Regions from separate parts of the Homo sapiens genome. Here regions 1, 2, 3, 4, 5 and 6 are each linked to region 7. The links are contacts of gene promoters, found by promoter capture Hi-C in blood cells and fetal thymus (Javierre and others, 2016). All regions are on one chromosome and are shown on one strand. Each heading gives the region's core, a stretch centred on a gene start or on the middle of the fragment in contact. The rest is flanking DNA. Distances are from core to core; before and after follow the strand shown. Region 1 overlaps CALD1 (caldesmon 1). Region 2 overlaps LOC124901750 (a long non-coding RNA gene). Region 3 overlaps CALD1 (caldesmon 1). Region 4 overlaps NUP205 (nucleoporin 205). Region 5 overlaps NUP205 (nucleoporin 205). Region 6 overlaps LOC124901750 (a long non-coding RNA gene). Region 7 holds the start of WDR91 (WD repeat domain 91).

The links. Contacts are between HindIII fragments. The CHiCAGO score rates a contact against its expected background, and 5 or more counts as called.
Region 1: a fragment that was not itself captured here is called in contact with the fragment with the promoter of WDR91 in region 7 in 1 of 17 cell types (neutrophils); the score reaches 5.2 in neutrophils.
Region 2: a contact is called between a fragment that was not itself captured here and the fragment with the promoter of WDR91 in region 7, in 1 of 17 cell types (naive CD4 T cells). The highest score is 7.7, in naive CD4 T cells.
Region 3: a contact is called between a fragment that was not itself captured here and the fragment with the promoter of WDR91 in region 7, in 3 of 17 cell types (naive CD4 T cells, megakaryocytes and naive B cells). The highest score is 6.2, in naive CD4 T cells.
Region 4: a fragment that was not itself captured here is called in contact with the fragment with the promoter of WDR91 in region 7 in 2 of 17 cell types (M1 macrophages and M0 macrophages); the score reaches 5.7 in M1 macrophages.
Region 5: a fragment that was not itself captured here is called in contact with the fragment with the promoter of WDR91 in region 7 in 1 of 17 cell types (naive CD4 T cells); the score reaches 5.5 in naive CD4 T cells.
Region 6: a fragment that was not itself captured here is called in contact with the fragment with the promoter of WDR91 in region 7 in 4 of 17 cell types (naive CD8 T cells, total CD8 T cells, activated CD4 T cells and 1 more); the score reaches 5.7 in naive CD8 T cells.

What each region holds. Positions count from the first base shown.
Region 1 is chr7:134,906,975-134,911,080 of GRCh38, forward strand. The region is part of intron 3 of CALD1 (caldesmon 1); the gene reads left to right. Among named protein-coding and RNA genes, the nearest start is that of AGBL3, 77 kb to the right of the region's middle. RefSeq lists silencers at 1,477-1,526, 1,537-1,586. The HindIII fragment of the contact is 5,578 bases long and covers 1-4,106 here.
Region 2 is chr7:134,716,032-134,720,297 of GRCh38, forward strand. All of the region lies in intron 1 of LOC124901750 (a long non-coding RNA gene), which reads right to left. It also overlaps a transcript of CALD1 not described here. Among named protein-coding and RNA genes, the nearest start is that of CALD1, 61 kb to the right of the region's middle. The HindIII fragment of the contact is 1,292 bases long and covers 945-2,236 here.
Region 3 is chr7:134,946,757-134,950,894 of GRCh38, forward strand. CALD1 (caldesmon 1) reads left to right here. Exons shown (of 15, transcript NM_033138.4): 8 at 752-1,013; 9 at 3,618-3,758. Among named protein-coding and RNA genes, the nearest start is that of AGBL3, 38 kb to the right of the region's middle. The HindIII fragment of the contact is 7,816 bases long and covers 1-4,138 here.
Region 4 is chr7:135,645,554-135,649,797 of GRCh38, forward strand. It overlaps NUP205 (nucleoporin 205), which reads left to right. Exons shown (of 43, transcript NM_015135.3): 41 at 1-43; 42 at 605-678; 43 at 2,851-3,200. The coding sequence ends at 3,003. Among named protein-coding and RNA genes, the nearest start is that of STMP1, 15 kb to the right of the region's middle. The HindIII fragment of the contact is 1,019 bases long and covers 2,439-3,457 here.
Region 5 is chr7:135,572,139-135,576,063 of GRCh38, forward strand. NUP205 (nucleoporin 205) reads left to right here. Exons shown (of 43, transcript NM_015135.3): 3 at 1,516-1,687. Among named protein-coding and RNA genes, the nearest start is that of NUP205, 16 kb to the left of the region's middle. The HindIII fragment of the contact is 1,877 bases long and covers 1,440-3,316 here.
Region 6 is chr7:134,699,006-134,703,123 of GRCh38, forward strand. The region is part of intron 1 of LOC124901750 (a long non-coding RNA gene); the gene reads right to left. Among named protein-coding and RNA genes, the nearest start is that of BPGM, 54 kb to the left of the region's middle. RefSeq lists a silencer at 3,892-4,118. The HindIII fragment of the contact is 2,272 bases long and covers 855-3,126 here.
Region 7 is chr7:135,208,914-135,212,880 of GRCh38, forward strand. WDR91 (WD repeat domain 91) reads right to left here and starts at 2,613. Exons shown (of 15, transcript NM_014149.4): 1 at 2,467-2,613; 2 at 663-842; 3 at 1-85. The coding sequence starts at 2,589. RefSeq lists an enhancer at 1-1,145 and a silencer at 2,316-2,855. The HindIII fragment of the contact is 4,223 bases long and covers 909-3,967 here.

The DNA of each region.
Region 1 (4,106 bases), core at 1,100-3,599, 300 kb before region 7:
GTTACCTAACGCCTCTGAGCCAATTTCCTCAACTATGAAATAGAAATAATAGTGCCCGTCTCACAGATACTATAACTACGAAGATCAAATTAGATCGCATATACATGATGAAAGTGTTCTGTAAAAAGTTGCCATCTGTCTTTGCTTGGATGGACCTGAGTTCCTGAGTTGGCTCTGAAAACAGCTTACCACGAAACAGGATAGGATTAGTGGGACAGCCTTGCTGACACAGATCATAACAGGGAGATGTCTCATTTTGACTTGGAAGTTGCACTGATATCATAGAAAATAAAAAAACCAGGTTTAACTGTTGGTTGGTACCTTGTGAGAAGAGGAAGAAGGTGATAAGAACTAAGATCAGAGCATAGTAGAGAAAGTAGCCCTGTAAACAGAGGAGAAGCAGAAAGAGAGAAGGGAGGACAGAGCTTTTATTTTGCTCCAGGTTAAAAAGAAAAAAAAAAAGCACATTACAACTCTATGTTCAGGTGTCTGTCCCAGGTCCTAGAACTGGAATAGACCAACCAAGCCCAACCCTTCTTAAAAGTAAGACTAGGTGCTTCCTGATTATATATTCAACTGCCTGGAAGCATGCAAGTAAAATTTCCTTGATGGCATTTCTAAGTTTCAAACATATTCTTCCTAAAAATGCATTTACAAAAAATATTAGGATTGTGTTTTTTTGGTTTGGACTTTAAAAAAAAATTGTTTTCAAAACCATAATTGTGGCCTACCCCAAATGGATTCTCCTCCCTACAGTGAGGATTTCATTTTTCCAGTCCCCCCCCGCCTTTTCATTTTTGATGAACTGCACATGTTGTGGGAGCCACTCGTGGGCCCTCAGACACGAGCAATCCTTCTGGCCGCTGCCAGTGTCCTAATAAGGGAATGAACAAGCGCCTATTGGTGAGGGAAGGGGAGTCAGGCGGTGGATGATATTTTTGCTGATTAAAGAGGATAAGGTGTGGTTTGGCAGGTATCTCATTGGTTTGGCTGGCTCCAGACCTAGGTTTTTTCTCTTTTTTCAGTTTGAATTCTGTAGAACAGACTGCTAAGAATTGTTTTTTCACAGATCTCTAACTGAGCTTTAGGAATATCATGCTGACACAGTTTATCTATGTTGAAAAAAGATAGGAATTTGGGGTTACATGATGTTTTCATTAAAAGAGGTTGAGGATATAGGTTAAAATCTTCTCGGTCACCAGGCGATGAAGGTGATACTGGACTTGATCAAATTTAGTCATGGAGAGAACAAGGGATATACCATTGGATATATTTAACACATGTTTAAAAAGTTTTAAACATTTATCTATGCAACAATATTAAGTAACACCTACTTTTGCTTGTAAATATTTATATTCTCCAATTTTAAAATAATAAAAGAAACAAAAAGAGCCTGGCACTTAGGATCATAGTGATGAGTTGCTCATCTATTTCCTGTCTGATCACTAAATACCTGCCAGTGACTCCTCTCTCCACTCTATTTTCTGAATGACTCGACACTGCCTTTTAACTTAACTGCATCTGGTCCACAGTGTTCTTAAGTCACTCATTATACGTCAGTGTTTCTCACATGAGCTGCAGGCTGGAATCATTTGGGGAGCTTTCAAAAGTTCTAATGTCTAGATCAGACCTCGAGCAGGATTCTGGTTTAATTGATTTGGGGCATGGCCTGGGCATCAGGATTCTTAGGCACTTCTCCAGGCAATTCTAATGTGCAGCTGAGGTTGAGGACCTCGAGAAGCAACTGCTACTCTGAAATGCATCCTCTATTGGATCATCTGGCCCCGTAAAGGGCCAGGCAGTTTTTCTTCCTGACATTTTGAAACCTCTCAAGAAAATACTATATATATATATATATGAAACAAGTTAGACAGGTTTCCTCCCAAGTTGGTAGATTCAGTTCGGTTGTTTAAAACTCAACAGTAGAGAATTGTGCTTTCAACCAAAATCAACTTCTAGACACATGGGTATTGTTTAAACTTTATTTTCCATGCATATAAGGAGTGAAGTACTCTGCCAGGTAGTTGAAAACAGTATCCATTTCAAAGTCATAAGTAATGAGATGAGATTTTTTATATTTTCTCTGTGTCCCTGCAAGTTATTCATCCCTTGATATTTAATTTAGTTAATACATGCCTCTTATTTTACTTTTTCTTATAATATTAAGCCAACTTCACATCCTGGAATTGTGAAATTGCTGTAGCAAGGATAGGATGATATGATCGAGAAGTTTAAAAAAAATTTTCAGATTATCAATTTTTAAAAGTAAGAGGATATGGAAGTGCAGTGCCTGCATGGAGAGAAGTTTTGAATTTTGAAAGAATTTTGGATTAATCAGGTGTCTAGAATTACTCATTACTCTCAGCTTCCTTACTGGATATTTCATTACCAAGGAAGAAGGCCATTTAGAAATTCAGGAGTGCAAAGGCTGGGCGTGGTGGCTCACGCCTGTAATCCTAGCATTTTGGGAGGCCAAGGTGGATGGATCACCTGAGGTCAGGAGTTCGAGACCAGCCTGGCCAACACAGTGAAACCCTGTCTCTACTAAAAATACAAAAATTAGCTGGGCATGGTGGCAGGCACCTGTAATCCCACCTACTTGGGAGGCTGAGGCAGGAGAATTGCCTGAACCGGTGAGGTGGAAATTGCAGTGAGCCAAGATCACGCCATTGCACTCCAGCCTGGGAGCCTGGGTGACAAGAGCAAAACGCAGTCTCAAAAAAAAAGGAACTTCGTTTGGAAGTGCAGACTGAGCTGGGAATATAAATTAGAGAATCCTCACCTTAAAACTGACAGACAAGTTATAAACATAGATGATATTATCCAAGGAGCATATGTTGGATAGGAGAAGAAAGGAGTTGAGGAAGAAACCCAATAAAAGGTACAAAAGAAACTACAAAATAAATTTAAAAACAGAGAATCTCAAAAAGGGAGATGTGGTCAACAGTGTCAGAGCTCTCTGTGGGATCAAGTAAGATTGAGAGCACAAAGGGACATTGGACAATTTGTCTCAAAGGACAGCTTAGAAAGCACAAGCCCATAACACAATGTCATTTTGGAGTTAGGGCTACTAATACCTGGATCAAAAATATTGAATATAGTCAATATAGTGTTCCGATATATTTAATAATGAAACTGAACTGTTCTTTTGATATTTTGATCAACTGGTCAAGTGATTAAGATGTCTGGAACTAAAAATCACTAGCCCCGTAGAGATCCATCTCAAGATGATTTTAGGTCAACTACCAAGTAGGTTAAACTAACTGATAAACCTAACTCCAAAATTGAATGTAAACTGACAAGACAGCCCGTGATAGGGTGGATTTAACTATTTTGGGCTATTAATGACTTATCCATTGAATTTCAGAACCAGTTTTGGCTACAGCACATGAAAATATTTCCAAAGGACTGCTAAATCAAACATGCTCAGTTTACCTAGTTGTACTGAGTTCTTTTTGCTTCCCACAGACATTGCAAAAGGCCAAAACTAACACTAGGCTTGATAGTGAAAAGAGAAAGAATATAAGAAATTTGCAAGGGAAGATGGTGCAGGAGGAGTTATGGAGGTAAAAAGGCATGTGCTGGAGTTGCAGGAAAATATAGAACTGCTCTATTCATGAGCCAAGCCAAGGCCAATCACATGACAATAAAAAAGACTGATGGCACATGCACACACGTACACACACACACACACACGCTCTTGAAGCAGGCCAAAGTCCACAGTCTCACTGGAAAACACCAGTTGACTCCGTTTGACTTTAGCACCTGATCATTGACTAGGTTCAAAAGTCAAATACTTTTCCTGTCCATAATCACTTGGTCTTCTTAGTAAGTAAAATATCCATTTTCCAGCTCTGAACTCAAGGGGATTTTCTGCATATAGTTGCAACATAATGCCATCTCCAGAGAAAGTAACATGGGAATGAGAAGCAAAGAAATGCATTAAAACATTTGCATTCTGGACCAATGAGCAAAATGCACCAAGAACCTACCTAAGCAAACACTGGCAAGAAAGTTTGTGGCTAGTAATTGCTTCTGACTATTGGCAGGAAGGAATTGAAAGAAGTGCAAAGTGTTGGGGGTTCCATCTCCTGTATTTTTTTCTA
Region 2 (4,266 bases), core at 341-2,840, 490 kb before region 7:
TGTGCCATGCTGGTCTGCTGCAGCCATACAATGGTATTTTGAAACAGAATATAGTGAGAATAAAAATAAGGTTATTGGTATCTTACAGTGTGTCTTGAACTTACTGTACCTAGAAAACGGAATATGAACTAAAATTAAATCTTACAATAAAAAGTCACATTCAGCATGACTCTAAGTAGATGTACTCTGAGGGAAAATGGAATGTACCATCAGGGGTAGTTTTGTTAAACCATCTGTTTAAACAATGCAACTGGCTACTATAAAAATTCAACCACTCTCACTGTCTCATAAGATACTAGCTCAGATGCAAGAATTATCACCCAGTGTGTTTAATGAATCAATTAAAAGGCTGAAATTTTGTGAAATTTTGATAGCTCCAGTGGACAAGACTCTGTGTTGCTTGCTTTTGTATTGTAAGTCCATGCAGGCAAATATGAGAAAGATTTATTATTTTCTAAACTCTTGAAATGTACATGACAGAAGAAGAAACTTTTAGATGTTTGAATCAGTTTTTAACACACCATCAAATAAATTGGCAAAAATATAAGCAAAAATATAAATGGACAGAGTGAAAACAATGTCAGGGAAAAAACTCAGCCAGAAGGGTTCATGTCAACACCATGACCAAAGTGAGTTCAAATATTCATGGCAGGTAGAGTGGATGTGAGCTAGTTATTAAAAAGATGACAGCATCTTTCAAAACTACATTGCACCATGCCTTGCAAATTATCAGTTTTATTAAGGAATAGTATTTATACTGTAGACTTTGATGTGTGATATGGATTATGTGAATAGTGAGTTCTAGAATTTACCTTTTTCACACCAAAGACCAATGCCAAATGAGATAAGAAATCACTGGTCTTCGATTTTTTGTGGTTATTGTTGTTGGTAAACAAGCTCCATTACCATACTATCTCTCAAATATAACAAGGTTTGACCACTGAAGCTTTATATATATACTTATCTTAGACTCTGTCTATCTATCTATCATCTATCTATCTGTCTATAATATATTTAATTTTTAGGACGGTATATTTTTACAGAATAATTGAGCAGAAAGTACAGTGAGTTCCGTCTCTTTCCCCCACCTCAACACACACAGTTTCCCCTAGTGTTAACATCTGACATTAGTGTGGTACACTTGTTAAAACTGATTAATCAAAACCAATAATGCTATTATGAACTAAAATCCATGGTTTAGGGTAGGGTTCATTCTGTGTTGCATAGGTCTATGTGTTTTGACAAATGTATAATGTCATGTATCTGCCATAACAGTGCCATACATAATGGTGTCACCACCCAAAGGACCACTGTAGTTTTAATAAGCTGAAAAAGCCCAATTGGAAAAGCAGAGTGACCTTGGTACCTTGCTTACAATGGCCAAGAAAGCACCAGGAATGAAATCGGAACACATTTCAGTTTCATTCAACACATCGCATTTCATGCAATACCAACTAAATGTACCTGCTTTGATCCTGAGAATGAAGGAAAATAAGGGGATAGAAGGTGGCCAGGCAGAAGGAATGGTGTGATGCAGAGAAAGCACTGGAATCCAGCTGCACTTGGCTGCTCAGACTGGAGCATTCGCCCGCCTCCCTGTGCTCAGGCTCCGGGTCCATAAAGTCAAAGTGAGGAGTTTGACTCCATGATAGGGAAGGCCCTGCCAGCTCCACTTGAAAGAAGGCACAATTATTATAACCAGGGCTTGTATATGTTTAATGGATTGGTAAACATTTTCCTTAAGCCCCAGGATTTTTTTGTGTGTGCCAATTGCCTTTGGAGATTTCAAGAATTAAAAAACAAATGACTAAGAAAACATAAATATGGAGACATATATTTCCGATTTTTAGCTTCTTAGTAAATAACTTGCTTGGACTACAGCTAAAACAAAGAGAAAATGCTAGCAATATAGATGGTTTCTAGATAAAAGAACATTCTTCTTGTCATGGAAAAAAAACAATACTAACTATGTGAATGCTTCCAGAAGGTAGAATTTTCATTTGGTACCTATTTTTCTTTTTCCCTTTTGTTTTTAAACACAGAATCAATCTAAAGTTGGTTCATGGTAAGAGAAGAAAAATGGGAGAGCAGTTTTTTTATAAGTGCCTGTGGATTTATTCTGAAACCCTAAGTTCTAGATTGAAAACATTTTTTTAAATCCTCCTCTTGGGAAAGAAGATGAAATCCAAAGGATTGTGTGAATTTACACTATTAATAATAGCTACCATTTATTGTAAGCTTGATGTCATAAGCACTTTACATGGATTATAACATTCTATCCACTCATCAATCTTATGAAGTAGACACTGTTATTATCTCCATTTTACAGACATGACAAAAAGGCACAGAGAAGTTAAATAGCTTGCCCAAGGTCACTCTGTGGTGGTTAAGCTGGGATTTGAGCCGAGGCAGGTTGACTTCTGAACCTGAGTTTTTAATCACTAAACTCAACTGCTATAAATTACATACTTATATTTATTTGTATACATGTGTTTATTTAATGGGAAAAAAATGTTTCATATAATGATGTATCTGAGATGGGAGCAGAGACAAGTAGTAAAATACAGATGATTTATAAAAGGCTTGTTATGCATTAAAAATGCATAAAACCTGGCCTCAGCTGTTTTAAAATTAGAGTAAATTACTGTACAAATTTCTGTTGCAATCAGAAGACGTTGGCTACTGCTGTTGTTGTGAATAATAAAATTCTTTGTCTCTGACCCAGAAGTCTCATGTCTTATACTGGTTGCTAGTTTTCAAGAAGGGTAAAATCTAAGACCCTTAGCAGTTCTTGACAACTGTTTCTGGAGTTTTTATTTCCCCAAAATATTGTCACTATTGCTTAGATGTCATACCTAGATGAATAACACTTGCCAAATAAATTTTTGAGTCAAGTTGAATGAAATAATTACCTTTTACTGGGAACCTATCAGTGGTTCTCACCCATGCTAGCCTCATGACTACTGTGTACACTATAGAGTATTATCTCCATTTTGCAAATGAAGAAACTGAGGTATAAGGACATTATTTTCCCCAATATCCTACAGCTCACAAATGTTAGAACTAAGGTCTGAAGCTAGTCCAATGTTCTTTCTGCCACTATTGCCTCTTAAAACATTTTAGCTACAGAAATATTAACTTTCAGACCAAATTATGAAGGTCACTGGGAACGGAAAAATGATTGTTTAAAGAGAAAATTTAAGCTTCAGAGAAGAAGGAAAGGGAGAAGTGAAGAATAAATAAGGAAGAAAAAAATAGAAAGAGGAGAGACAAAAAGGGATAAAAAAATATGTCCAAATAACTTTACAGGGCAAATAGAGGGCTGGGGTCCCTACAACAAGAGTTGGGAGCAGAACAGGGTTATGAGGCTCGCCAGAGGAACTTGGTGTAGACCTGTAAAAAGTAGCAGAGCACCCAGGGTGAAGCCTAGGAAGAGCCAAACAGCCAATCTAAATAAAGTACCAATCAGGCAAAGGGCTAGAGTCCAGGGAAATGGGGCAGTCATCATTGTCTCCTAGAAAGAGCAGGCAGAGAACAGCGTCCAGGGAAAGAAACCGGTAGTTTGCGAGGGGGGATAGGAGAGATTTCTCCAAGCACAGGAAGAGTGTAGCTGGGCCCATCAATGGCCATTGTCCGATATGTGTTTGTCCATTTTGTTTTGCTTGGACGTCAACGGCCTTGTGTGTGTGCAAAAAAGAGCTTTTAAGGACCCCAATCTGGTTTGGACAAGGTGACAGAAGCCAAAAGTTACCTTGGTTGAGTCTTAAGGGAATGAATTTTGAGAGTTACCTGTTCAAAAGCCAAAATGTTCAAATCCCGAAATGTTCACATCAATCACCAAAGATGCCCCCGAAATGTTCACATCAATCGCCAAAGATGCCCGCAGTGAGTGTTTGTTTTCTTGTTTGTATCTCTGTTTCAACTCAGTTGTACTTTGAGCTACACAGATCCTTCAAAAGAATAAAAGCTGGGTTTCTTAACCCCCGCTTTGGTTAGCGTGTATGCTTTCAGCACCTATGTTTAGTATTTTTTAGAATGTAGCCTTTGTAAACTTCACCCACTGTATTTTGCTGAAGTCAGACTCACCCTTTGTTCACCAGTAATCAGCAAACATTTGTTAGTGACGACAGTGGCACTCTGGTTAGCCCTCCTCTTTTTTTTTTTTTTTTTTTTCCTTGCAGAGCATAGTTGAAATAATTTGGGAAAGTTTCTCTTCTTCAAGGAGCTGGGAAAGAATGATGAATGGGCCCCTTGTTCTGATGCATC
Region 3 (4,138 bases), core at 1,158-3,657, 260 kb before region 7:
TGCAACCCCTGCCTCCTGGGCTCAAGCAATTCTCCTGCCTCAGCCTCCAGAGTAGCTGGGACCACAGGCACACGCCGCCACGCCCGGCTAATTTTTTTTTTTTTGTATTTTAGTAGAGACAGGGTTTCACTGTGTTGCCCAGGCTGTCTTAAACTCCTGAGCTCAGGCAATCCGCCCGCCTCGGCCTCCCAAAGTGCTAGGATTACAGGCGTGAGCCACTGCACCCGGCCTCTCCTTCCTTTTTAAGGCTGAATAATATTCCATGGTATGGCTAGACCACCTTTTATTTATCCATTCCTGCTATGATGGACACTTGGGTTGCGTCCATCTCTTGGTCCTTGTAAATAATGCTGCTATGAACACGGGTATACAAATGTCTCTTCAAGACCTTGCTTTCCATTCTTTTAGAAGTGTATCAGAAGTGGGATTGCTGGATCACGTGGTAGTTCTCTTGTTGATTTTTTGAGGAACCTCCATACTGTTTCCATAGCAGCTGCACAACTTTACAATCCCATTTTACAGTGCATATTTGTCCCATTTTACAGCTGAGGAAACGAAGCACAAGTGGAAGAGCAGAGGCTCCTGGACTCTGTGATTCCGGGCAGACCCCTTCCCCAGCCTACCCCCTGGGCTAATGAGAGGCAGTGGGTATTTAGTCGGGGATGCAGAAGCCGCAGACCGACCTCCCCTTCCTCCAGGGAGACTACAGGCAAAAGCATGTAAACCCCTTTCCATTGCCCCCCAACCACAGCCGCCCTGGAGGGAGGGCCAGCGTGGACACCAAGGAGGCTGAGGGCGCCCCCCAGGTGGAAGCCGGCAAAAGGCTGGAGGAGCTTCGTCGTCGTCGCGGGGAGACCGAGAGCGAAGAGTTCGAGAAGCTCAAACAGAAGCAGCAGGAGGCGGCTTTGGAGCTGGAGGAACTCAAGAAAAAGAGGGAGGAGAGAAGGAAGGTCCTGGAGGAGGAAGAGCAGAGGAGGAAGCAGGAGGAAGCCGATCGAAAACTCAGAGAGGAGGTAAGGCGGGCGCTAGCCCACTGAGAACGTTGCCCGGGAAAATTCCCTAGTGCCGTGCGGCTGTTCTTTTGAGCATGGGCTCTCAAAAATATTTTTTTAAGAATAATAAACTTACCATGTGCTAGGTACTGTTTTATAACTTGTAGATGTATTAATTTGTCCACTGCTTCTAAGAACTCGCTGACCTAGGTACTAATCCCCATTTTACAGATGAGAAAACTGAGGCACAGAGAGGTTTTGTTTTTGTTTTTGTTTTTGTTTGTAACTTTCCCAAGGTCTCCCTTGAGTCTGCCTGACATGCAGGAGGAGCCCCATCATTAAAACCCTTTACTGCCTCTCAAAAAGGAAAAGTTAGAAAGCTGAAAAGGATGAAAGGTCTGCAAATTAGTTACCAGAATGAAGTTATGGTTTTCTAATAGTTGGAGAGTTTTTATAGAGAAGATTTTTTTAAATCTTTTTTTTTTTTTAATGAGCAAGTAAGTACATTAGAATATAAAGAGGCAGGGACAGTATCTGCGTTGTTCATTACTGTATACCCAGGACCCCATACCGTGCCTGACATGCAGGAAGAGCCCCATCATTATAAACAGATGGATTTGTTTCATCTTTTAAGACAGAGCTAAAAACAGCAGATAGAGTTACAAGGAGGAACATTTTGGCTCAGCATATGAAATAATGTTTAACCAACTACAACTTACAGTACTACAGTTTACAAAGTGCATTCTTTCATTTCATCCTGAGGTACATCGTTCTCATTTTATGGGCAAAGAAACCAGGAATCAAATAGTTTGAGTGACTTATTTGAAGATTCTTGACTAATAAATGGTAGAATCAGTAAGGAGACCCCGCTTTTCCAACTCAGAGCCCAGAGCTTTTGAGATAGCGATCTCCCATCATTCAAAATATGAAGAAAAAAAAAGACTTTCAATGGCATTTTGACAAGGATCCTATGCAAAATTTTCCTGAACTGTATGGAAAATTTGGATACATTATTTTGAGGTCTCTTTTAACTCCAACTTTCAATGAGCCAATGACCTTTGGTTGGGAAGTATGGGAAGTAATCAGGATGATAGAGTTTGGGGGTTAAACACACCCCAGGCTTTTTTTTTTTTATTGTTTTTTTAGACATAGTCTTGCTCTGTCACCCAGGCTGGAGTGCAGGAATGCAGTGGTGCAATCTCGGAACACACCCAGTCTTCTATCCTAACTCTGTCACTAACAAGCTGGGGCCTTGGGAAAACTGGACTACTCTGTGTCTTCTTTTCCTTATCTGTGAAATAATATCTACTTTGCAGGATTCTTCCAATAATTTAATAGATCATTGTGCTCCCAGTGCCTGGCACATTCTAGGCACTCAAAAATTAGTAGGTATCATTATTGCCATCATTGTTATTATGATTATTATTCAGAGGAGGAGAGTATCAGGAAAGGCTGAAGAGAAATCACGAAGTCTTAGAACTGGATTGGACCTAGGAGATTATTTGGGCTAAACTACCAAACACAGGATCCTTCTGTGACATCCTCTGACAGATGAACATCTAGTCTCTGCTTGAGAACATGCAGTGATAATGATCTCACAGCTTAAGAACTACCAAAGACTGCATTAAATCTCTCAGAAAATCAAGTTGTGCAACTTGATCAGAGCCCTGATAGAGAAGACAGAGTATTCTAGACTAGGAATGAAGACACAGAGGGGTTAATGAGACAGTCTGTAAACATTTGCAATTGCACTACCATGGTTCAACGTCTAGAGCATTTCAGGTTTGTCAAACCATCTAAAATTATATATTCACTTGAAGCGGGGAGCAACCATAAAATCACCTCTTGTACCATCTGGCAAATATAGTACCACAGATTTAGATAGCTTTTCACATAAGTTATTCATTTGTCTTCACAACTCTCCTAGGATGTAGGTAGAAGGAATATTCATATCCCTTTTACATATACAGAAGTGTGAGGTCATTGTTAATGACCCACAGGATGGTGGTGATTATGTATCATCCTATGGGAAATCATCATAATGAGTGTTAGTCTAAGCCAGGGGTGTCCAATCTTTTGGCTTCCCTGGGTCACATTGGAAGAAGAATTGCCTTGGGCCACACATAAAATACACTAACACTAATGATCGCTGATGAGCCAAAAAAAAAAAAAATCACAAAAAGGTCTCATAATGTTTTAAGAAAGTTTACGAATTTGTGTTAGGCTACATTCAAAGCCATCCTGGGCATGATGTGGCCCCTGGGCCATGGGTTGGACAAGTTTGGTGTAAGCATTTTACATGTGCTATCTCACTGAGCCCTCACGAAAGCCCTAAAAAATGAGTACTATTGTTATCCCTGTTTTACAGATGAAGAAACTGAGCCACAGAGCAGATAAATAACATGGCCAAGGTCAGGCAGTTGGAAAGTAGCAGCACCAGAATGCAAATGCAGGCAGCTCGACTCCAGCTCTCAGGCTAAACCTCTGGTGACCACCTAGAAGGGGAGTGTCCAGCCTGCGGCCTGAGTCTGCTGCCTCTCCAACTGTGCTCTCTCTCCTACAGCACTCTTCCCTTTGGCTGTGAAGCTGGTACTGATGCCTCGTTATTTGTTCTTTCTCTCTTAGGAAGAGAAGAGGAGGCTAAAGGAAGAGATTGAAAGGCGAAGAGCAGAAGCTGCTGAGAAACGCCAGAAGATGCCAGAAGATGGCTTGTCAGATGACAAGAAACCATTCAAGTGTTTCACTCCTAAAGGTTCATCTCTCAAGGTATTTTTTTCCCCAGAAAACTTCTATTAGAATATGATAGAGACTGGATTTTAGCCCCTTGTTTAGTTATTGATTATACAGGGCCTTTGTTCATTTATCTTTTTGCTATCCTTCCAAGTTAATCTGTTCAGGCTGCTATAACAAAATACTTTAGACTGGGGCCAGGCACGGTGGCTCATGCCTGTAATCCCAGCACTTTGGGAGGCAGATGTGGGCAGATCACCTGAGGTCAGGAGTTCGAGACCAGCCTGGCCACCGTGGTGAAACCCCATCTCTACCAAAAATTCAAAAACTAGCCGGACGTGGTGGCACACACCTGTAATAATCTCAGCTACTTGGGAGGCTTAGGCAGGAGAATCACTTGAACCCAGGAGGCAGAG
Region 4 (4,244 bases), core at 1,698-4,197, 440 kb after region 7:
TTATTTGCCTCGAGAACCTTGTTTAAAAGCAGAAGACTGCAAGGTAAACTTTCTGCTAAAAATTAATGAACCATAAATACCTATTTGTGCCTTGAAAAGCTAGTACCAGTTTTTTTTTATTTTTGTTTCCAGATTACTTAGAGTGAATTGGGTGAATCAAGAGCTGTTTAGTCACTAGACGTAGCTATTTCTTGCATTTTACTTTCTGTTCACGGGACATTGTGCTGAGCATAAGAATATTCTAGAGCCTGCTCATCAGCTGTTCCTTAGCTTCTTGCTGCAGTTAGGGGGCTGATCCAGCTCTAGAAGAATGGAGGAGGTCTGCTATTATGCTGATTCTTATTGCTGGAGTGGGCCTCTGTGACTGATGGCCATATATTGGATCCCTTAGGTGGAAGGAAATAGAGAAAAGCTGAGAACCCTGGTCTGGACCAGTGAAATGCTTTCTAGGGGCTTCCATTTGCTAAAAGTTGAAAATTGAGTTCCCAATCTTGAGCCGTGTTTTTCATGGTGCTATTGTTATTATTCATTGTCATCAGGTTCCTCCACTGTGTGGTAGATAGGTACTTGCACAGCCGGTATGACTCTGTTTTTTTATCTCTAGATTCCTTCGCCTCAGAAACCAATCTAGATTTTAGAAGTGGGCTGGCTATAGTGAGCCAACATGATTTAGACCAGGTAAGGTTCTATTCTCATATTCTTTTATTTTTCTTCATTAAAGTAAAAGGGCTGGGTGTGATGGTACACATCTGTAATCCCAGCATTTTGGGAGGCCGAGACGGGAGGATTGCTTGAGCCCAGGAGTTTGAGAGCAGTCTGGGCAACATAGTGAGACCCCGTCTCTTAAAAAAAAAAATTGGCATACTGTGGTGGCATGCACCTGTAGTCACAGCTACCTGGGAGGCTGAGGTGGGAGAATCACCTGAGCCTGGGAGACTGAGGCTGCAGTGAGCTGTGATTGCACCACTGCACTCCAGCCTGGGCAACAGAGCAAGACCTTGTCTCCAATAAATGAATGAAAGAGTGAAGCAAGACCTTGTCTCCAATAAATAAATAAATAAATGAATGAATGTAAGTAAGTAAGTAAAAAGGAAAGCCTGGTATGTTAATAAGATTATGATTTTCAGGGTTGCTTACAGACACCTGGTTTGAACTCTAGCTTGACCATTTTAACAGCTATATGACTTTGAACAACTTACTTAACTTCCGAGCCTCAATTGCTTCATCTAAGAAATAGGAGGATTCAACCTCAGAGGGTTTTGTCAGAATTAAGTGAGGTTTCATGTATGTGAGGCTGCTAGTGTTGTACCTAGAACATGGTAAGCATTCCGTGATTGGTAGGCATTATGATCTGGAAACTCCTGATGTCTTTTGATTAGCTTTGTAGAACTTTTTAGGTACAAAGTATCACTCAGCACTTATTTTTCAGGAAATAATTTAATGGTGAGATTGAGAGCAGCCAATACAAATCCCGCCGTCATAGACCATAGTACACAACACTGTGCTCTTACTAACCTGTTGATCAGTAGTGTTAGAATGAATGAAGAGTATGCCAAAAACAATTACAATGAAAACCTCATATTAAACTAATAGCAAAGTTATGTTTCTAACAAAGCAGGTATCAGGGTGTGTGATGTTAGGGAAAATGAATTACAGCTAGATCCTCTGCTAGCCATCTGAATGTCCTTAGCCATGATTTGATAAAGCCTCTGCTCCTCCCAAATCCCTCTTTTTGCTATTTTTCTTAAAACAAGGTTGGGAATGAAAGGTGCAGTTACAGCAGCCTCCAAAGCACAGCTTGCTGGATATCATGAATACCACGCTCCCATCCCAATCCAGACTACATTCGCCCCTTAGTGACTTTATAAAAGGAATTCGTTTTGTGGCTAGGCTTGTTTAGGAGAACTAGTGTTAATTGAGGCCATGTGCAAAATTAGCCAAAGAAGATTATTCAGAAGTTTGTTTGTTTGTTTGTTTTGTCTGAGAGACAAGGTCTCACTCCATTACCCAGGCTGGCATGCAGTGGTGTGACCACAGTTCACTGCAGCCTCAACCCCCTGGGCTCAAGTGATTCTCCCGCCTCAGCATCCTGAGTAGCTAGGACAACAAAAATAAATATATTTTGAAGTAATAACTGTTACTATTTCATTTAGACTGCTTTGTGAAAAAGCTAGAAAAAAATGCAGGATTAATAAATAATCTCACACTCTGTGTTGTGATTTTAATGCAAAACTGAAAACAGGTAGATTGATCTAATATTGTACTTAATTTTAGTCTTTTAGTATAACATCAAAAAGATCCATCTGAAACTACATATGCATTCTAGAATATATATGAATTCTAAAGCATATAACAGGTGTATCCCCACATTAATATTTTTTGAAAACAAAAGCATGCAAGTGGGTTTTTAAAAATTGCAAAATGAAGTAAAAAGTAAAAGCTTCTTTCCCACCTACCCTCCTGTCCTCCCTCCCTCCCTTCCTTCCCTGCATTCTCCTTCCCTCCCTCCCCCGCCAGTCTTACTGACTTCTTGTATGGCCCTTCAGGAAATGTTTTTGTGTGTATGTTAGTATATCAGCATCAGCATCAACATTCATTGCTATTTAAAGCAGGTTTTTAAATTTATACAAGAAAAGAAAGCAGGAAAAACATGAGAATTAAACCAAAAAATTCTAAGGTAGAAAATGTGAATGTTTAGTTAATTTAGTAACACATTACAAAAATTCAAAAGTATTTACATTGAAAGAACCACATTACAAAAATTCTAAAGTGTTTTAAATTGGAAGACTTAGAATAAAAGAAATATTTGAGACAACAATTTTAACAAAATGTCTTTTGTGTCACCGCTAGCTTCAGGCTGATGCAATCAACGCTTTTGGAGAATCACTACAAAAGAAACTTCTGGACATTGAAGGATTATATTCAAAAGTTCGATCTCGATATAGTTTCATACAGGCTCTTGTCAGACGTATCCGTGGCCTCTTGAGGATATCAAGGAACTGAGAGCCCGTGCTTATGCTCTTCTATGAGAGAGATGAATTGGGGAGAATTGTCTCCATTTTATAGATTAGTTTCTTTCTAAATTATGACCAAAAATATTTTGCTATTTCTTTCTTTGTATATGGACATCTTTTCTGTAAACTTCTTCCCCTAGTTCCATCCTCACTAGTAAAAAATAAATACTTTTTAAAAAAACAAAACAAATGTATGGTTAATCTTTTGATCTTTTATCTTTTGATCAGCATTATCAGGAATCTAACAAATAAACCTTCAACAGTGGTGATTTTCCCATAGAGATATTATTCTGAATGCCAGATTAAAGGCATAGTCTGAAAATTCTAATTTTTTCACCCTTTGTAGCTACATTACACTATTAACAATATTCAGGGTTACTAAAATATAGCCATGCTCTTATAGAATAGTGTACTCAATACTGTGAAAATGTCTGAAAAAGTCAAGCTTTTTCCTAAAATTATTTAGGTTTTCCTTTTTTTTGTTTTTTTCTTTTCTGCACGTAAGTTGACAATACAATTGTCCCTTGGTATCTGGTGATTACTGGTTCTAGGGCTCCCACGGATACCAAAACCTATGTTTTGGCATGCATGTTCCTTATATAAAATGGCATTGTGTTTGCATATAATATAGATACATCTTCTTGTATACTTTAAATCATTTCTAGATTACTTACAATACCTAATATAATATGAATTCTATATAAATAGTGGTTAATACTACGTTTTTAAATTTGTATTATTTTTTGCTGTTACACTGGTTTTTTCCCCCCCAAATATTTGTGATCTGTGGTTGGTTGAATCTGCAGATTTTGAACGTGGGGATATGGAGAGCTGACTCTACAGTAATTTGTGTTTGTTCCTTAGAAATGATTGTGAAATTTCTCAAATTAATCATCTGCCAATATTTCTCATATAATTAATATGATGGCTATCACTAGGACAAAACATTTACATGATCACCACTCTATTTCTTACCCAGTTGTTTTCATGTTCAAGTAACTACATCATCCGAAACTGCAAATTTCCTTTTCCAGACAGCAATTACTTCAGCCTAATACATAGGAGAGACTGCTGAGAGGAAGTCTTTGCTTTCATTTAGTAACAGAATAAACGCTATAACACTATAGAATAAAATTGATAATTATTCTATAGTGTCATAGTGTTTTTTTGTTTTGTTTTGTTTTTTGTTTTGTTTTTGAGAAAGAGTCTTGCTCTGTCACCAGGCTGGAG
Region 5 (3,925 bases), core at 1,128-3,627, 360 kb after region 7:
GTGAGCCACTGTGCCCTGCTGTGATTTTAATGGAATTTTTCTTAGGAGCAATGTTATTCTCTATAGAAGTTAATATTATGTTTATTTCTAGCTAGGAGATAAACTTAATAATATTTGAAGACTATTTAAGAAATTTAGTATATTCCAGAAATATTAACTGCCTTAGAATTTCTGACCTCTAGTTAGTAATACATCTATGCTTGGTAAGATTGATTATTTTGTTTATTTCCAGATGTACGTTAAAATTTTAAGTATTATTTTATAGTAGTTTATAGTATTATGTAAGTTGTGTTAATGGAATGAATTAATTCTTGAGTATTTTTAATTTCTGCATCTTGAAATTCTTTGCAATAGCAATAGGGTACTTTAGTGGAGGGGATTCAAACTTGGAAAATGCTTTTCTTGTTGTTTGGCACTTTTCCTTTGCGTGTATGTGTTTGTGTGTCAGAGTCTCACTCTGTCGTCCAGTCTGGAGTGCAGCGGTGCGATCTTGGCTCACTGCAACCTCCCTCCCGTGTTCAAGCAATCCTCCTTCCTCAGCCTCCAGAGTAGCTGGATTACAGGCGCCTGCCACCATGTCCAGCTAATTTTTTTGTATTAGAGACGTGGTTTCACCACGTTCGCCAGGCTGGTCTTGAACTCCTGGCCTCAAGTGATCTGCCTGTTTCAGCCTCTCAAAGTGCTAGGATTATAGGCATGACCCACCACGCCCAGTCTGGCACTTTTCTTTTATATACAGCAAGGAAGCCATCCAAGAACTATTTATAGGATTGTGTTACCAGAAATGGCTTTTTGCTTTTTAGCTTTTTTTTTTTTTTCTTTTTTTTTCTTTTTTTTTGCTTTCTTTAGTAGAAAGAACCCCAGCCTGGGAACCAGTTGAGCTGATTTCCAGTCTTGGCTGTACCACTAGAGAGTTTTATGACCACAGACAAGTTACCTGACTTAGCTGGATGTCGGTTTTTCTGTCTGCAATAGAGGAGCTAGATTCAATGACCAATGTGTAACCTTTAAGTTCCGAAACTTTAGATGTATGATCTATCAGCTAATTCTGTACTGTACGTCATATGTTAAATATTTGCACCAAATTATCTTTTAGGAAATAAGACTACATTTTATATAACATTAATAAACTGTTACTTGCTCTGCTAAGTAATTAAACAGTTCATATATCCATTTGTTATGTACCATTTGAAGACCTTATTATTTTTATTTATTATGTAATTGAAAAGTTCTGTAGAAACTTGAAAAATAGTATGCTATTTTGTATATTTTCTCCAAATTTTTCAGATCAGAGTTTAGCAGTCACAGTTATTGAGAAGGTAGTATTGGAATAAAAAGTTTAAGGTTATGCAAAATATTACTTCATAAAAGTCTGTTCTAAATTAGCTGATAAGAAATACTTCTGTTTGTCATGTTACCAGGCTGAATTATCATGAATAAGCTTCTGTAGGTAACACTTTGGGACCTTGTCTCCAGTGTGCTATTTTCATAACAATTACAATTTTATCATTGTAGCCAAAAAATGTTCAACAGCATGAGAAGGTTCAGAAAGCCAGTACAGAGGGAGTCGCCATTCAGGGTCAACAGGGAACTCGACTTCTTCCTGAACAGCTCATTAAAGAAGCCTTTATTCTCAGTGACCTTTTTGATATTGGAGAATTGGCAGCTGTTGAGCTTCTTCTTGCTGGTAGGTTGACATTTAACTGAAACAGTGGTAAAATAATGCAAAATTATAAAATCACTCATAGTTTAAAATAGTTTATTGTTTAGATTCTATCATAGTTTCTAAGGCTGCAGTTTGGTAAAACCATATTCAAAATATTTCCTTTTTTAATCTTTGTTGTTTTTTTTTGAGACAGAGTCTCGCTCTGTTGCCCAGGCTGGAGTGCAGTGGCATGATATCGGCTCACTGCAACCTCCACTTACCGGGTTCAAGTGATTCTCATGTCTCAGCCTCCCGAGTAGTTGAGATTACAGGCATGTGCCACCATGCCCGGCTATCCTTTCTTAACCTTTGATTGGAAGGAAGGCTTCAGTTTAGTGATCAGAATTGTTAAAGACATCTCAGAAATTTTATAGCACAAAGCACTTACTGTCAGTGAGTAGGCAGGTAAGGTCACCACTTTTTTGGAATTTCTTTTTGAGAGAGTAATTCAGATAATGCATGAGTAGGTAAAAAATAAGATGATTTCAATAATACAGAGTACTAGGAAGAAAATAAAATAAAGCAGTGAGATATAGAGAGGTGGAGGCTGGCTAGTGCAACTCTAAGTAGGATCCGTAGAGAAGGCCTCTCTAAGATGGTGTCATTTGCCTTGAGACCCAAATGATGAGAAGGTGCCAGCCACCCAGACCTATTGGGTAAGGCTTTTCCGGGGAGAGCAAGCAGCCAGTGCTTGAGGTGGGAATAAAGGCGTGTTTAAGGATAAAAAGATCATTGTGGCTAGAGCATCATAAATGAGAGGGAGAGCAAAGGAAGATGCAGATACAGCAGGAATCAGAGCATGTTTGATTTTGCATGATAATGAAAGGTATTTGGATTTTATTCTAATTGCAATAGAAAGTTGTTGATGAGGGCTTTAAGCAGAGACATTACATAATTCATTCTAACTCTGAAATTATTTCTCTGGCTGCTGTGTAGAGAAAAGAGAGAAAAATTTCTATACTATAAGCAGTTTGTTTTAATTATAATGGAGGAGCCATTTGAAGAAAATATGGGCATGTTAGTTGAACAAAAGTTTAATATGTCTAAAGATAATATATGGCTACCAAAATCCTTTTTGACCTAAGCCTGCACTAAAAGAAGTATGATATTGAGAATGAGGGGGATGTTCACTAGACATGCTTGAGTTTTGAGTTTAACTCGGAACTTTCATTTAACAAACATTTCTTCTATACCTACCATGTGCCAGGCATGGTGTTAATTATATCACTCCAGTGATATAAAGATGAATAAAATCTCAACTAGTGTAAATACGCTCATATTCTAATAATTGAGAATGATGTGGAAACAAATATTTTGACACAATTAAGTACAATTAATGCAGTTTTGTGCAAGATTTAGAGATGGTCCAGAGATTTAGAGATGGTATTAGATGGACCTTGATTGTACAGAGAACTCTTAACAACATCATGAAGTTTAAGGTAGATGTTGCAAAATGAGTAAGCATACATCAGGTGGAATAGGTGGTTATTTGGGAGGATGAAGGGCATCCAGGCAGAAGAAATTGCCTGTGCAAGAGGGTGAAGCAAGGTGATGAATTTGGGGAACAGAAAGGAGTAGAGTGGAGGAGTAGTTGCAGTAAGGGGAAAAGAAAGCTTTAGGAAATGAAACTGAAACTATAGGCAAAGTACTCTTAAAAAAAAAGTGAAACTTAGCCAGGCGTGGTGGCTCACACCTGTAATCCCACCACTTTGGGAGGCCAAGGCAGGTGGATCACGAGGTCAGGAGTTCAAGACCAGCGTGGTCAACATGGTGAAATGCCATCGCTACTAAAAATACAAAAATTAGCTGGGTGCTATGGCAAGTGCCTGTAATCCTAACTACTCAGGAGGCTAAGGCAGGAGAATTGCTTGAACCTAGGCGGCAGAGGTTGCAGTGAGATCACGCCACTGCACTCCAGCCTAGGTGACAGAGTGAGACTCCATCTCAAAAAAAAAGGTAGAACTCATTCAAAGGAGAGTAGTTAAAAGGTGACTGAACTTGAATTATAAAAAGGTTGTTTATTCAGAGAAGATTCCGAGGGAAGAAACTTAGAAATATTTGAAAGATTCCATATGAGATAGTAAAATGGGCATTGAATAAAATTAAATTTAGTGGACAACAGTGAGACCAAAAGATTCTCACCCAGTATGTAGAAATCACAGGTAAGTGTGAGAGTTAGAAATTGAGAGTTTGGAAAATGGTGAATTCCATGTCCCTGCT
Region 6 (4,118 bases), core at 741-3,240, 510 kb before region 7:
ATATATACACATATATATTTGGACATATACATATATATGGAGAGAGACAGAAAGATAGAGAGACAGAGATTGATTCATTTTAAAAGAAAGTGTGGGAACTGCAAGTCTGAAATTTGCAGGCCCAGACCAGCAGGCTGGAAGTTCTGGCAAGAGGTGACATTGCAGACTTGAGTCTGGAGGCAGAATTCCTTCCCCTTTGTAGGGCCTCAGTCTTTTCTCTTAAGGCCTCCAGCTGATTGGATGAGCGTCACCCACATGATGTATGGTAATCTACTCAAAGTCAACTCACTTAAATATCAATTATATCTTTTAAAATACCTTCTCTGCAACATCTAGGCTGATGTTTGACCAAACAACAGTGCATGACGTTTGTTGTGCCCCCAAACTGACACATAAAATCAACCATCACATGTACAGGCACTGTATTAAGCACTAGGGTGTAAAGATAAATATGACCCTGTCCTTAATCTTGAGGAGTTGATGATCAAATGGAGAAGGAAAGGCAGAAAGGAATCATTTTGGTAAATTCCATATTGAGGTATAGATGCAAAGCTGACAAAGGAGTTTGGCCTTGGGCCAGTATGAGAAGGCTACACTTTATTAGGTGCAATTTGAGCTGGCTCCTGAAGGCTGAGAAGAGGCTCGCCCCAAGGAAAGGCGTTCCAGTGATGGAGAAGCAAAAGGATTTGCACTACGTGGGCAACCGTGAATGGCTGGATGCGCTCATGTAAATAGGCAAGTTTTCTGAATAACCCAGCTGATTTCAAATCACGTTTAGCCATTCCTTGTTACAACATTCCTTCAAAAGAGTCATTTAGCTCAACAAACTCATTGTGGTCCTCTTTTAGACAGAAAGCTTCTCTTTCTCAGAAATGTAGCTGAGTGATGGTATTTTCCTTATAAGAAGAGACGTAGATCAGCTCACTGTCATTGTATCTGAACTCGGGGCTCTCCAGAAAGCAACAATTCCTTTTAATTCCTCTCTTACCTCTTTTCATGCCTCAAATCCCACACACATACCTCAAATCCAAAATAATTCAACCATAGCCTTGTGCATTGATGTCACAGGGCTTTCCTCTACTGAGAGGTTGAGCACAAAATCTCTTTAATTCTCCACTCCTTTCAGACTATGAAATGATGTCTGTTGGTGAATTGTTTATACATTCCAACAAAACAAGCCAACAAAAAAAAACTGAATGTAGTTGGCTCTTTTTTTCTCTCTGTGGATTTCAGAAAATTCCATTATGTTGCCAATTAGGCTTCCAAAATGGATGAACAATCTAAAAAAAAAAATCTAGACAGCAACATTATGTAGAGGAACAAGCACTATACTAGGAATCAGAAAAATGAGTTTTTCTTTTTACTTGTTTAAAACCCATTTATGCCTAGTGTTCCATTACTGGAACGCTGAGCACGTGGGAGTTATTTATATCCTACTGCTTAGGGTCATCACCAAGGTCTGATTGCAAAAATTCAAAAATTGCAATCTCGGGTATAAATGGGTTAAATGTTCTCTTATTTTAACCCTTATCTAAGCTGTGTGACCTTAGGAAAGAACATGGCCTCTCTGAGCTTGGATCCTCATCCATGTGGACTCACACTCTCCCAGGTCCTCCCAGTTCCCTGATCATGTTCCTTTCTTTTTTTGCATTTTGTTTTGTTTTGTTTTGTTTTGTTTTGAAATGGAGTCTCGCTCTGTTGCCCAGGCTAGAGTGCAATGGCATGATCTCGGCTCACTGCACCCTCCGCCTCCTGGGTTCAAGCTATTCTCATGTCTCAGCCTCCCAAGTAGCTGGGATTACAGGTGCCCACCACTGCGCCCGGCTAATTTTTGTATTTTTAGTAGAGACGGGTTTTCACCATGTTGGTCAGGTTGGTCTCGAACTCCCGACCTCAGGTGATCCGCCCGCCTCGGCCTCCCAAAGTGCTGGGATTACAGGCGTGAGCCACTGCACCCGGCCTCATGTTCCTTTCTTTCCCCCACTTATTTATAAACTTACATTCTTGAATAGAACATCTTTATTCTTTTGCTTTTCCAGTATGTTAAGGCAGTAAAAAATATTTTTGGAAAATACTTAACTTCATGATTTGCCATATACATTATTTTTTACCTAATCCAGGACTGAAAATAGTTAATTTTTGTAGTTGACCATTCATGTGATGTTCTTTCTTTCCATCTGAAGGTAATGTGGAGGCGACATTAACATAACGAAAGCATGGAAGAAGTAGAAACGTCAGTCTTTAATACTGAGCTTCATAACTCTTCCTTCATATACATCATTGCCAAATCAATGTCGGCATTTCAAATTGCTTTGGGATAGCACACCAGCTTGAGAGGAGTTGAGGTGAAGCCTCTCCTTTTGGTCTTCCTGTTGAATAACTACACTGAAATTCACCAACATAGTCAGTGGTGGGCTTTAGGCCACTGAATTAAACCAAGCTCACTGGCCCCATCTAGGGATCAAAAGCATTTAGCCCATGTTCTAACCATTGAATTAGACATCAAAGGTCCAAAGTTCTGAGACTGGCTTAGAATAACCCTTTACCTCCAGGCGGCATAACCTCCAGAACATTCCTGGAGGATGAACTTTTGGCTTTCACCAGCCTGACTGTTAAGCCAGCCACCATGGAAGATGAAATGTCTCACCAGAAATCACTCCCAGGTGGCAGTTCGTGCCTGTTTCCTCTCACATGGCCATCATGGGACGTCATTCTGGAAATCATTCTGCAGCTGTATGAAACCAGGGCCAAAACCCATTCCCCTACCCTGGAAGCAAGGGAAATATGGATATGGGAGAAATGAAATTTACTGACTATTGGTGATGAGGTGCTGTTGTCAAGGGTAAGAACTGGGCAAAAACTTTAAGAGGCTGAACACCTTTTGTTTTATCAAGAAAACTGTGAAAAACCCAAGGCAAAACAAGCAAGAAGCAAAATGGCCAATAGTTTGTCTCCAGCCAGGCCTCTATAAAGACCAGGAGGAGCAGCCTCCCAGGAGTCAGGGAGATAGATAGGCTATCTTCTTGTCTAGTCACTGTGAGATGACAAGGTCACAGGGTCACTCAGCTTTGTTTGTAGAATCCTGAGCCCCCTAAATCCAGTCTTGGATAGGAGGAGTGGGGAAGAAGCTTTATGGAAGGAGGAGTCTTATCAAGATTCTGGGGGACCCGCAAGTGGCTCTGGGCCTGGGAACAGCCACTCTGCCATATTTGCTAAATACCTGTCACCAGCAGAATCCTGCTCTAGATGCTGAGAGGAGCTACAAGGGCTATGAAAGTTCTCTCCATCATGGAGTTTGAGGTATGAATCGACCCAAAACCAGTCTGTAAAAATGCATGTGATCATGCATTTACTGTCCCCCTCAGCTGCATAGAAAGCTACACTAAAGCTACCCCTGCCACTCAAGGGTGGGACACACCTGCAACTTCAGAGTTGGAAAGCACCCACAGTAATCCCGTTGAACAATCCTCTCCCCGATTTACAGAAGAAACAATACCCATGCAGTTGGGAAGAGGCAGCATGGGAAGAAGAACTCCAGGCTGCTGGAGCCCATGAGAGGTCCGGTCCCGCCCAGGCTGCCTGACTCTTCTTGTGAGTTAGGAGAAGGGAGTGAGAGAGGCCAGAATCCGACCATGTGAGCTTTAATCCCCTTTGTGATATAGTCTGTGCTTACAAATGGTTAAGACAGTGTGTGGCTTTGCCTCTTTTTCTGCCCACATGCTGACAATTTTGTTGAACAAAATTACAAGAATAGCACAAGGATAACCTTTCCCCTGCCCTCTGCATGGGTCTTCCCGACATTGTTATGCTCGCCTGTCTTGTGCTATTAGATCAGCTTTCTTATTGCATCTATGCATTGTGGAACATTCTGGCTACAAGCCTGCGTGCTGGAGCCAGACTGCCTGGGTTCAAATCCCACCACTACCTCTGCTGGCTGTGACGTTTGGCAAGTTCCTTAACCTCTGTCTTCAGTTTTCTTGCCTGAACAGTAAGGAAGGGGATCAGATCCTCTCAAAGGTGCTGCTCAGCCCTGACATGATTGTGCTTTTATTTATTTAAAAAACATAAAAATGATGACTGTGCCTATTACAGGAAGGAATGGAACAGAAGGAGCAGGC
Region 7 (3,967 bases), core at 1,363-3,862:
CAAACCAATCCTTCCACTCAGCCTGGTTCTGGAGTTCCGTGGCCTGCTTTGCAAAGAACTCCTGAGCCTTGTCATTTCTGTTTGTCTGCCAAGACACAAGGAGGTAGCAAGGAGGGAGGAGAGACAGAAATCCAGAGGTAAGACTCTTCATCATTGCACAGCAGACAACCTTTGACTATCAGCCTGCCAGGTAAGTGGCAAAATAAAATTCCATAATATAAAGGAAATCATCACTCTTTTCTCAAGGAACTTGTCATTTCAAAGCTGGTTTAAGCTGAAGTTCTAATGATAAATCCCATCCTAAAAATTAATCCCTAGCTGATGTTCAAATAACTAAGTGACTCATTCCTCCAGGTCAGCTATCATCTTTATTACTCAAACTTTAACCCAGCTACTTATATTCTTTAAAATACCACCTTTGTTTTAAGCTTACATGCTTAACATAAAAAAGGAAATAGGAATGGGGAAGACAAGTCAGATGATCTACAGATGACGACAAGGAAAAAAAAGAAGAAAAACAGTCAAAAATAATTGCACTGTAACTGCTGCACTCTTTCCCATAGTCACATACAGATTCCTCCCTAGGAACTGGAAGAAAATCTATTTTGGGATCAAAGAGCTCCTTCCACCAAGGGAAGCAGAACCCCTGAATCAACAGGCACCTGGATTGTGTAGACAAGATAAAATCGAAACAGGCTGGTTTTCAGCTTGTGGATTGTGGGTCTGTATATATCCTCCAAGCGGCTGAAGAGCCGACGCTCCAAGTAGCTCCAATAATCCCGAAGGGCAGCCAAGTCATACACCTGCATTAACTGCTGCAGCTGGTCCACAATCTTATCCACCTGGCGAGAAACATGGATGGAGAAGGTGGTAAGGGACAGAAGGGAATTCTCCCCTCCATGGAATAAAGCTTTTTCCTCTTGTCATGGCTTCTGGGTGTAAAAAAAAATTTGTAAGTTAGCAATCTATAAAATTTTCAAAACATACTAATGCAACGGTTTTTCAGTAATTTTCTGATGTTAGAGAAGTGGTTTGACCCTCTAGCAAGCACGGAAATTTCAGGTGTAAAAGGGCTCTGGCCCAGAACCTAAGAGATCTGGCTCCAGATCTTGGATCTGCCTCTGACTTACTTGATCAATTTGGCAGTGTCATCAGGCCAGGCACCGTGGCTCACGCCTGTAATCCCAGCATTTTGGGAGGCTGAGGTGGATGGATCACCTGAGGTCAGGAGTTCGAGACCAGCCTTGCCAACATGGTGAAACCCCGACTCTACTAAAAATACAAAAATTAGCTGGACGTGGTGGCACGCGCCTGTAATCCCAGCTACTCGGGAGGCTGAGGCAGGAGAATCGCTTGAACCCAGAAGGCAGAGGTTGCAGTGAGCTGAGATCGTGCCACTGCACTCCAGCCTAAGCGACAGAGTGAGACTTTCTGTCAAAAAAGAAAAAAAAATGGCAGTGTTGCTTAACTGTAGTTTCAGTTACCTCACATTTTTAAAAAAGGGGGTGGGGTGAAGAAGAGCTATGAGACAATCTCCACAATTCCCAGATCCCAAGGATCATGAGGAGGTGCATGGACTGACTCCTTCAAGTCATCAAAGTTCCACGAAGCCGTGGTAGCTGCTCAGAGTGTCAGCCAAGGAAGTCACCTTCTTGTGAGGAGCAATTACAGCAGAGTACAGAATCTGGAAAAGGGTTTGGATATCAATACCAATCCAATGCCCCTAGTTTATAGATCAGGCCACTGAAGCCCAGAGGGGTGAAATGATTTGCTTTTGCCACTAAGTAGCCACTAACTTTGGCCAGGCAGGAAACCAGATCTCCTAACTCCCCTCCAGTGCTCTTGCTGTTAGCTCACTGCCTCTCATTGAAGTCAGTACACACAAACATACAAATCACACACATATACATTCCAAGAACCTCGCAATGGAAAATCATTTTAGAGCAGGGGAAGTTTGGGTTTCTCTAATGTGCCATGAGGTCTTCCACAACTGCAGAAGCAAAATTGCCGATGAGTCCCTGACGAGGCCATTTTAAACAAACACCGCAGATACTTGAACGCAGCTAACGTTTTGGACTGCAGACTTCTTTGCTTCCACTGCCACTGGAAGCCAACACGAATATCTGTTGCCAAAACGCAACCATCTACCTAACCTCGGCTCCTAAAACCTCATCGCCATCCTGGCCAAGGAGGCTGGAGTGGAGACAGAACCCTAGACCAGGAGCCGGGGCATCGGGGCTCCAGCCTCGGCGATGCTCCTGACTCGGGGGGCGGCTTCAGGCAGGTCCTGTCCGTCTGAGGGTCTCAGTTCCTCATCCGTCAAGCTGGGGTCGGACGCGCTGAGGTCTCCGGCGCCCCGGCGCGAGTGACAGCGCCGCTCTCGCCCCGGAGGCAGTGCTGGGGGGAAGCCCGCTCCCCGGCTCCCTCGGGCCGCCTCTGCCCGCGCCGCTCCCGCCGGCCTCTCACCCGGAACCCCTTCTCCTTGTCCGCCTTGATCTCGGCGTCCAGCTGCCGCAGTGTGTGCGTGAACCCGCGGAAGAGCAGGTACTCCCGGACCAGCTCGTCAGTGCGCTCCACGGCCTCCGCCATCGCAGCGCTAGCGTCTTTAGGGGTGGTGCGGTGAGGGACGGAGGGGCGGGGCCTGGGAGAAATGGGGCGGGGCCGGACGCGGGCGCCGAGCACGTCACGCCGCGACAGGCCTACCAGCCCGCACGCACTGGGCGACCAGCCTGAGGCCCCGCCCCTCGGCCGGCTCCCCGCCCGAGGCCCCGCCCCTGAGCCAGCCCCAGCCCGCCTGGCCGCTCGAGTCACCCTTACCCCTCCCGAGGAGTGGCGAGGGGAGGTCCTGGCGGCGCCGGCGGCGGCTTTGTCTGAATTACTGAAAGTGGCGGCTGCCACCCACGTCAAACAAGACTGGATCTTAAGAACATCCCAGGTAGTCCCGAGGCGGGCAGGGGGTGCGGCGCCCTGTTGGTTGGCGTTACATCGCAGAGCTCCCGGTCCCCTGCCCTCCTCCTACACGGAGGAAGCTGGAGCCCTAAGAGCAGAGTGACCTGCGTGAAGCCACAACACGCGTGTCCTCAGAGAGCGCTAACTCCCCCAAATCTCTGCTTTCATTAGTAAGACGAATTGGCTACACAGCAAGATAACCAAGATGCACTGCTAGGATAGGCAAATTTCATAGCAGTGTATGTACGCTATAGTCCTGGTTTCTTGTGAAAAAAAAATTAGGTATGTATGTGTGTACATTTTTTAAATTCAGGAAGATTATACACCAAGTTCCTATGCAGTCGGGTCTCTGCATCCTCGGGTTCCGCATTCACGGATTCAACCAACGAGGATTGAAAATATTTTTTCCAAAGTTTTAAAAATAAAAAATAGCCGGGCGCAGTGGCTCACACTTGTAATCCTAACATTTTGGGAGGCCAGGGTAGGCGGATCTCTTGGCCCCAGGAGTTGGAGACCAGCCTGGACAACATGACGAAACCACATCTCCACAAAAAAAAAAAAAAAAAAAAAATGCGGAGCGCAGTGGCTCACGCCTGCAATCCCAGCACTTTGGGAGGCCGAGGTGGGCGGATCACCTGAGGTCGGGAGTTTGAGACCAGCCTGACCAACATGGAGAAACCCCGTCTCTACTAAAAATACAAGATTAGCCGGGCGTTGTGGCGCATGCCTGTAATCCCAGCTACTCGGGAGGCTGAAGCAGGAGAATCGCTTGAACCCAGAAGGTGGAGGTTGCAGTGAGCCGAAATCGCGCCATTGCATACCAGCCTGGGCAACAAGAGCGAAACTCTGTCTCAAAAAAAAAAAAAAAAAAAAATTAGCCGGGCGTGGTGGTGCTGCCTGTGGTCCCAGCTACTTGGGAGGCTGAGGCAGGAGGATCACTTGAGCCCAGGAGGTCGAGGCTGCAGTGAGCTGTGATTGTACCACTGCACTCCAGCCTGGGTGACAGAGCAGGACACCG